Linked DNA regions of Homo sapiens: region 1 is linked to region 2. Evidence: promoter capture Hi-C in human tissues and cell types (Jung and others, 2019). All regions are on one chromosome and are shown on one strand. Each heading gives the region's core, a stretch centred on a gene start or on the middle of the fragment in contact. The rest is flanking DNA. Distances are from core to core; before and after follow the strand shown. Region 1 overlaps PEX1 (peroxisomal biogenesis factor 1). Region 2 holds the start of ERVW-1 (endogenous retrovirus group W member 1, envelope).

What was found. The method cuts DNA at HindIII sites, captures the fragments that hold promoters and counts their contacts. A contact is called where the count stands out against the background at its distance.
Region 1: a fragment that was not itself captured here is called in contact with the fragment with the promoter of ERVW-1 in region 2 in 1 of the 25 tissues and cell types used here (aorta).

The regions. Positions count from the first base shown.
Region 1 is chr7:92,511,865-92,516,530 of GRCh38, reverse strand. PEX1 (peroxisomal biogenesis factor 1) reads left to right here. Exons shown (of 24, transcript NM_000466.3): 6 at 2,564-2,683. Among named protein-coding and RNA genes, the nearest start is that of PEX1, 14 kb to the left of the region's middle. The HindIII fragment of the contact is 6,462 bases long and covers 1-4,666 here.
Region 2 is chr7:92,476,689-92,481,550 of GRCh38, reverse strand. It overlaps ERVW-1 (endogenous retrovirus group W member 1, envelope), which reads left to right and starts at 3,605. Exons shown (of 2, transcript NM_001130925.2): 1 at 3,605-4,169. It also overlaps a transcript of GATAD1 not described here. RefSeq lists enhancers at 3,292-3,323, 2,921-3,351, 3,241-3,385, 3,363-4,282, 4,420-4,862 and 1 more, cis regulatory regions at 2,921-3,229, 3,230-3,291 and promoters at 3,316-3,676, 3,383-3,715. The HindIII fragment of the contact is 19,432 bases long and covers 1-4,862 here.

The sequences.
Region 1 (4,666 bases), core at 517-3,016, 37 kb before region 2:
TTTTTTTTTCTCCAACAGTTTTACCTGTGACCTTTATACAAATAACTGACAAAGCATTAATCTCTTTGGCCTACATCATTTTCTTTTCTATTTTTTTTTTCCACAAGATGGAGTTTCACTCTTCTTGCCCAAGCTGGAGTGCAGTGGCATGATCTGGCTCACTGCAACCTCCGCCTCCCACGTTCAAGTGGTTCTCCTGCCTCAGCCTCCTGAGTAGCTGGGACTACAGGCATGCACCACCACGCCTGGCTAATTTTTTGTATTTTTAGTAGAAACTGGGTTTCACCATGTTAGCCAGCCTGGTCTGGAACTCCTGACCTCAGGTGATCTGCCTGCCTCGGCCTCCCAAAGTGCTGGGATTACAGGCATGAGCCACTGCTCCTGGCCGGCCTACATCATTTTCTAAAGCTCCAGACCATTCTTTTCTTTTCTTTTCTTTTCTTTTCTTTTCTTTTCTTTTCTTTTCTTTTCTTTTTTCTCTTCTCTTCTCTTCTCTTCTCTTCTCTTCTCTTCTCTTCTCTTTTCTTTTCTTTTTTTGAGTTAGAAGCTTGCTTTGTTGCCCAGGCTGGAGTGCAGTGGCACCACCTCCACTCACTACAACCTCCACCTCCCAGGTTCAAATGATTCTCCTGCCTCAGCCTTCAGAGTAGCTGGGACTACAAGTGTGCGCCACCACTCCTGGCTAATTTTTGTATTTTTAGTAGGGACGAGGTTTCACCATGTTGGCCAGGCTAGTCTTGAACTCCTGGTCTCAAGTGATCCGCCTGCCTCAGTCTCCCAAGGTGCTGGGATTACAGGCGTGAGCCACTGTGCCTGGCCTCAGATCATTATTTTCTGTTAGCTTTAAACTGTCCGTTCAGGAGATCCCACTGCATCCTCAAATTCAAAATATCTAACACTGAGCTTATGATTTAGCTGGTTCTGTCATTAGATGGGAATATCCTTTTATTTCCTTGAAATTATATGGTGAGAACAGGGAGAAGTGCTGATGGTAAAGTCCTGTGATTAAGATAGCAATAAGGACTCCGCCCTTCCCACTCCACTGAAGGTTGAAGAGCCATGGACAATGAGAAGTCACAGTAGGTGAAATCAGGTACTAAAATGGACTTGGCTTGAGAGATCAAAATTGATCACTTGGTGATACAACTAACAAATTCATGTTAACTTGAACCTTTATTACCCTGTGAAGCATGGTGATTAAAAAAAAACAACAAACAAACAGGAAACTTGATTGTTAAATTCTCTTTAAGTCAGAATATGTACCTTAGAGTTTTTATTTATGCTTTTGTCTACCATTAATATGTCTGCACCTGCTCTTTAGAAGTTAATAGAGAGTAAAGTCGTCTTTATGTCTTTCAGTGCTTACTTATATTTGGGAAGTTGAGAAAAATTTTTAACATCATTATTGATATATATATATATATATATATATATATATATATATATATATATATATATATATAGATAATTTTTTTTTTTTTCTTGAGACGGAGTCTCACTCTGTCGCCCAGGCCGGAGTGTGGTGGCGATCTCCACTCAATGCAAGCTCTGCCTCCCAGGTTCAAGCGATTCTCTTGCCTCAGCCTCCCGAGTAGCTAGGATACAGGCTCCCACCACCACGCCTGGCTAATTTTTGTAGTTTTAGTAGAGACGAGGTTTCACCATATTGGCCACGCTGGTCTCAAACTCCTGACCTTGTGATCCGCCCACCTCGGCCTCCCAAAGTGCTGGGATTACAGGCGTGAGCCACTGCGCCCGGCTGAGGTAAAATTTAAAGTGTACAATTCAGTCATTTTTAGTATATTTATACTAGTTGTACAGCCATCACCACAATCTAAGTTTAGAACATTTTCATTAGGGGGTGGGAGAAATTTTACTCTGCTTTTTAGATTAAGTTTCTGTCTGGATCTAATCATTTAATCAGACAATCAGGCAGATTGTCTGTGATTAGTTTTGGCCATTCCAGCTTCTTCATTGGTTGTTAACTTTCACAAATAAAGGCTGCTCAAAGATTAGAAATAACATTTAATTTGAATGTAAATGTGCCATAGTTTAAAAGATGGGTTTGGTGAATACAGTCAAATACATACATTTAAAGCTCTAATTCTGAAGATTATGTAAAGAAAAGGAAAGAAATGTAGGGAGAGGATTGAAATGTTCATGGTATAACAATATCTGAACATCCATCTGGTCACACCGTTGGTATTTGAATGTTTTGTCCTCCTCAAATTCATATGTCGAAATCCCAACTCCCAAGGTGATCGTATTAGGAGGTGTGGTCTTTGGGAAGTGATTAGGTCATGAAGGTGAAGCCTTCATGAATGGGATTCGTGCTCTTATAAAAGAGAACTGTGAGAAATAAGTTTCTGTCGTTTGTTAGCCACCCAGTTTAGGATATTTTGATATAGCAGCCTGCATGGACTGAGACAACTATGAGTTATTATGATAGCTTCTGTTATTTCACCTAAATTCATAGAAGCTAATATATCAATATTTATGCTATGAAATATTTCTTAACCAAGCTTTGAATATATTTATATTTTTGTTTATTTTTAAATTTCAGATTCCAGATGACCTGAGGAAGAGACTAAATATAGAAATGCATGCCGTAGTCAGGATAACTCCAGTGGAAGTTACCCCTAAAATTCCAAGATCTCTAAAGTTACAACCTAGAGAGAATTTAGTGAGTTCAAATATATATGTTACATCAAAATTCTTTTACACGTTTTGTAAGATTTCTAGTTGCTTTAGCTAAGTAATAAGAATGTTGTATTCCTTTTTGATACAAATCTTTTTTTATTGTGTTAAACTATATATAACATAAAATATGCCATGTTCGCCATTTTTAAGTGTATAATTCAAAGGCATTAATTACATTCATAATATTGTACAACCATCACCACTATCTATATCCAGAACTTTTCCATCACCCCAAAGAGAAACTTGGTACCCATTAAACAATAATTCCCCGTCCACTCCTTTCCCCAGTCCCTGGTAATCTCTAATGTATATTGTGTCTCTATGAATTTACTTATTCTAGATATTTCATATATAAGTAGAAGTATGCATTTGTCTTATGTATCTGACTTATTTCATTTAACATAATGTTTTCAAGGCTCATCTGTGTTGTATGTATCAGAATGTTATTCCTTTTCATGGCTGAATACTATTCCATTGACTGCATATACCACATTTGTTTATCCATTCATCTGTTGATGGACACTTGGGTTGTTTCCACATTTTTGGCTGCTGTGAATAATGCTACAGTGAACATTGGTGTACAAGTATCTGTTTGAGTTCCTCTTTTCAGCTCCTTTGGGATATACCTAGGAATTATGTTTAACTTTTTGAGAAGCTGAGAAATCTTTAATAAATGATAACACAAATACTTATATTTGCCAATGCAAATATGAATATTTTTGGCTTTTAAGAGATTGATCATTTTGCCACGTGGTTGTAATTAAAAAAAATTGTCCCATGTTGTTTCAGTATTAATATTGTAGCCTAAAAGAGTGCTAGACTGTTTTACTTTTTACTCAGTTAATTCTTTGGATACTGGTAGAGTCAGGAAATGAGATATTGAACTTAAAGATCTTTGCAGGTGGGGTCCAGTGGCTCACACCTGTAATCCTAGCACTTTGGGAAGCTGAGGTGGGAGGATTGCTTGAGGCCAAGAGTTTGAGAATAGCCTGGGCAACATAGCAAGACCCCATCTCTACAAAAAAATTAAAAAAAAAATTAAGCCAGGCGTGGTAGCTCACGCCTGTTATCCCAACACTTCGGGAGGCTGAGATGGGTGGATCACTTGAGGTCAGGAGTTGGAGACCAGCCTGGCCAACATGGTGAAACCCCATCTCTACTAAAAATACCAAAATTATCGGGGCGTGGTGCTAATCCTGTAATCTCAGCTACTCAGGAGGCTGAGGCAGGAGAACCACTTGAACTGAGGAGGTGGAAGTTGCAGTGAGCCTAGATCTCACCACTGCACTCCAGCCTGGGTAACAGAGCGAGACTCTATTTCAAAAAAAGTAAAAATAAAAATTAGACACATGTGGTGGCACATGCCTGTAGTCCTAGCTACTCAGGAGGCTGACTGAAGTGGGAGGATCTCTTGAGCCCAGGAGTTCCACACTGCAGTGAGCTATGATTGTGCCACTGCACTCCAGCCTAGGCAATATCTCAAAAAAAATTTTTTTAAATAGATTATTAGGCCAGACGTGGTGGCTCATGCCAGTAATCCCAGCACTTTGGAAGGCCAAGGCAGGCGGATCACCTGAGGCCAGGAGTTTGAGACCAGCCTGGCCAACATGGTGAAACCCCATGTCTACCAAAAATACAAAAATTAGCTGCAATGTCTATAATCCCAGCTACTTGGGAGCCTGAGGCAAGCGAATCGCTTGAACCCGGGAGGCAGAGGTTGCAGTGAGTGGAGACTGCGCCACTGCACTCCAGCCTGGGCGATACAGCGAGATTCTGTCTCAAAGAAAAAGGAATTTGTTTTCCTGTCTTTATCGTAGAGGGAGGAAAGGGAGAATGGGGTTGGAATGGTTATTGAGTGAGCCACATTATGGTAGATGTATCACTGGGCATAGAGAAAAGGAGCATTTAAAACTTTTCCGCCTAACAGATGTTTCTTCAGGCTACACTGCACTCATTGTGCTAACTG
Region 2 (4,862 bases), core at 2,356-4,855:
CCTTTTTGTCCAAACAACTTGACCTTACTGTTTTAGGCTCGCCATCATGTCTCCATGCGGTAGCTTCCGCTGCCCTAATACTTTTAGAGGCCCTCAAAATCACAAACTATGCTCAACTCACTCTCTACAGCTCTCACAACTTCCAAAATCTATTTTCTTTCTCACACCTGACGCATATACTTTCTGCTCCCCGGCTCCTTCAGCTGTATTCACTCTTTGTTGAGTCTCCCACAATTACCATTCTTCCTGGCCCAGACTTCAATCTGGCCTCCCACATTATTCTGGATACCACACCTGACCCTGATGATTGTATGTCTCTGATCTACCTGACATTCACCCCATTTCCCCATATTTCCTTCTTTTCTGTTCCTCATGTTGATCACATTTGGTTTACTGACGGCAGTTCCACCAGGCCTGATCGCCACTCACCAGCAAAGGCAGGCTATGCTATAGAATCTTCCACATCCATCATTGAGGCTACTGCTCTGCCCCCCTCCACTACCTCTCAGCAAGCCGAACTGATTGCCTTAACTCGGGCCTTCACTCTTGCAAAGGGACTACACGTCAATATTTATACTGACTCTAAATATGCCTTCCATATCTTGCACCACCATGCTGTTATATGGGCTGAAAGAGGTTTCCTCACTACGCAAGGGTCCTCCATCATTAATGCCTCTTTAATAAAAACTCTTCTCAAGGCTGCTTTACTTCCAAAGGAAGCTGGAGTCACACACTGCAAGGGCCACCAAAAGGCGTCAGATCCCATTACTCTAGGAAATGCTTATGCTGATAAGGTAGCTAAAGAAGCACCTAGCGTTCCAACTTCTGTCCCTCATGGCCAGTTTTTCTCCTTCCCATCAGTCATTCCCACCTACTCCCCCATTGAAACTTCCGCCTATCAATCTCTTCTCACACAAGGCAAATGGTTCTTAGACCAAGGAAAATATCTCCTTCCAGCCTCACAGGCCCATTCTATTCTGTCATCATTTCATAACCTCTTCCATGTAGGTTACAAGCCACTAGTCCACCTCTTAGAACCTCTCATTTCCTTCCATCGTGGAAACATATCCTCAAGGAAATCACTTCTCAGTGTTCCATCTGCTATTCTACTACCCCTCAGGGATTGTTCAGGCCCCCTCCCCTCCCTACACATCAAGCTCGGGGATTTGCCCCTGCCCAGGACTGGCAAATTGACTTTACTCACATGCCCTGAGTCAGGAAACTAAAATACCTCTTGGTCTGGGTAGACACTGTCACTGGATGGGTAGAGGCCTTTCCCACAGGGTCTGAGAAGGCCACTGCAGTCATTTCTTCCCTTCTGTCAGACATAATTCCTTGGGTTGGCCTTCCCACCTCTATACAGTCCAATAACGGAGCAGCCTTTATTAGTCAAATCACCTGAGCAGTTTTTCAGGCTCTTGGTATTCAGTGGAACCTTCGTACCCCTTACTGTCCTCAATCTTCAGGAAAGGTAGAATGGACTAATGGTCTTTTAAAAACACACCCCACCAAACTCAGCCTCCAACTTAAAAAGGAGGATAGAGCCCAAAAACTCGCAACCAAGCTAGTAATTATGCTGAACCCCCTTGGGCACTCTCTAATTGGATGTCTTAGGTCCTCCCAAATCTTAGTCCTTTAATATCTGTTTTTCTCCTTCTCTTATTCGGACCTTGTGTCTTCCGTTTAGTTTTTCAATTCATACAAAACCGCATCCAGGCCATCACCAATCGTTCTATACAATAAATGCTCCTTCTAACAACCCCACAATATCGCCCCTTACCACAAAATCTTCCTTCAGCTTAATCTCTCCCACTCTAGGTTCCCATGCCGCCCATAATCCCTCTCGAAGCAGCCCTGAGAAACATAGCCCATTATCTCTCCATACCACCCCCAAAATTTTTGCTGCCCCAACACTTCAACACTATTTTACATTATTTTTCTTATTAATATAAGAAGACAGCAATGTCAGGCCTCTGAGCCCAAGCCATCATATCCCCTGTGACCTGCACATATACATCCAGATGGCCTGAAGTAACTGAAGAATCACAAAAGAAGTGAAAATGGCCTGTTCCTGCCTTAACCGATGACATTCCACCACTGTGATTTGTTCCTGCCCCACCTTAACTGAGCAATTAACCTTGGGAAATTCCTTCTCCTGGCTCAAAACCTCCCCCACTGAGCACCTTGTGACCCCTGCCCCTCCACTACCCACCCAAATCCTATAAAATGGCCCCACCCCATCTCCCTTAGCTGACTCCTTTTTTGGACTCAGCCCGCCTGCACCCAGGTGAAATAAACAGCCTTGTTGCTCACACAAAGCCTGTTTGGTGGACTCTCTTCACAGGGACGGGGGTGACAACAACACGGACACACATGGAGTGGTTTTAAGGAGCAGAGAGTTTAATACGCAAAAAAGAAGGAAGAGGCTCCCCTGTACAGACACAGAGGGAGGGGGCTCCAAGCCGAGAGAAGGAAACCCCATGTGCAGTGGAAAAGTGGTTGATTATACTGGGAGGCTGGAGGAGGCGGTGTCTGATTTGCACAGGGCCCAGGGGATTGGGTTGACCAGGTGTATCATTCATGTACCCCGCAAAAAACCTGGCCCTCCCACCTCAGCCCTTTAATATGCAAATGTGGGTTGCCATGATGTTCTGAAAACACATGAATTATCTGGAGGGGGCCATGACACTTGGTACATGTGCTGACAAGAAGAGGGTGGGAATCGCCATGGTGGCCATGTTGGGTGGACCTAGTTTTTAATAGCCTGCATTTGCATATCAAAGTTTGCTGGCCTGGCTCTTTAAGCTGTCTTTTCTGTTAGAAAAGGAATGGTTTGGAATGGGTGAGGGTTGCTTCTTATTACAAGAAAATTTCCAAAAACCTTTACTCTTTCTAGCTGCCAAAAAACTATTTCTTAATAACTTATGTATTACCATAATTAGGCAGCACCAAAGATCCCTGCAGGTCAGACCACTGCAATTAACATGCTGGCTTTACTGCTGATTATGGTAGCTGCATCCACCTAGCCTCTCATATTGCAACTGCCTGACCTCTGCCACCCCACGAGCCACTTATCCCCACTTATAATCAGCCCATTTCGATTGTAACATCTGCCACTTATTCCCGACGTTGTGGTATATCCTATAGATGAATTCATTCAACATCCATTCCAACACCACCTCTCTTGCCTTCCTATACTCTCTGGAGAGTGAATTACTGAGTCACATGATCTTCACTGCAGTCATTTGTGGCTATGTGACATAGTTCTGGACAGTGAACATAGACAGAAGTCCCTGGGGCGGGCTTCCTTTCTGGGATGAGGGCAAAACGCCTGGAGATACAGCAATTATCTTGCAACTGAGAGACAGGACTAGCTGGATTTCCTAGGCCGACTAAGAATCCCTAAGCCTAGCTGGGAAGGTGACCACGTCCACCTTTAAACACGGGGCTTGCAACTTAGCTCACACCTGACCAATCAGAGAGCTCACTAAAATGCTAATTAGGCAAAGACAGGAGGTAAAGAAATAGCCAATCATCTATTGCCTGAGAGCACAGCAGGAGGGACAACAATCGGGATATAAACCCAGGCATTCGAGCTGGCAACAGCAGCCCCCCTTTGGGTCCCTTCCCTTTGTATGGGAGCTGTTTTCATGCTATTTCACTCTATTAAATCTTGCAACTGCACTCTTCTGGTCCATGTTTCTTACGGCTCGAGCTGAGCTTTTGCTCACCGTCCACCACTGCTGTTTGCCACCACCGCAGACCTGCCGCTGACTCCCATCCCTCTGGATCCTGCAGGGTGTCCGCTGTGCTCCTGATCCAGCGAGGCGCCCATTGCCGCTCCCAATTGGGCTAAAGGCTTGCCATTGTTCCTGCACGGCTAAGTGCCTGGGTTTGTTCTAATTGAGCTGAACACTAGTCACTGGGTTCCATGGTTCTCTTCTGTGACCCACGGCTTCTAATAGAACTATAACACTTACCACATGGCCCAAGATTCCATTCCTTGGAATCCGTGAGGCCAAGAACTCCAGGTCAGAGAATACGAGGCTTGCCACCATCTTGGAAGCGGCCTGCTACCATCTTGGAAGTGGTTCACCACCATCTTGGGAGCTCTGTGAGCAAGGACCCCCCGGTAACATTTTGGCAACCACGAACGGACATCCAAAGTGGTGAGTAATATTGGACCACTTTCACTTGCTATTCTGTCCTATCCTTCCTTAGAATTGGAGGAAAATACCGGGCACTTGTCGGCCAGTTAAAAACGATTAGTGTGGCCACCGGACTTAAGACTCAGGTGTGAGGCTATCTGGGGAAGGGCTTTCTAACAACCCCCAACCCTTCTGGGTTGGGGACTTGGTTTGCCTCAAGCCAGCTTCCACTTTCAGTTTTCTTGGGGAAGCCGAGGGCCGACTAGAGGCAGAAAGCTGTCGTCCTGAACTCCCGGCAGTAGCCGGTTGAGATCATGGTGTAGCCAGAAGTCTCAACAGTCGCCCATGCATGCACCCCTATCTTTCCTTCTGACCCATACCTCCTGGGTCCCAACCACAACTTTCTTCAAAGTGTAGCCCCAAAATTCTCCTTACCTCTGAATATACTTCCTCTGATCCCTGCCTCCTAGGTACTATTGGTTCAGACTTCCATTTCCTCTAGCAAGTTGTATCTCCAAAGGGATCTAAGGAAGCTCTGCGCTGCGTCCTTAGGCACCTAGGCTATAACCCAGGGAGTCTTATCCCTGGTGTCCCTCCCAATTTAGGCATACAGCTCTTGACATGGGCAGTTATGTAGGACCCACTCCCCACCACCCTTGCCAGGGCCCCAAGTTTGTAAATGGCTGAGGGAAAAGAGAGACAGAGGAGAGAGAG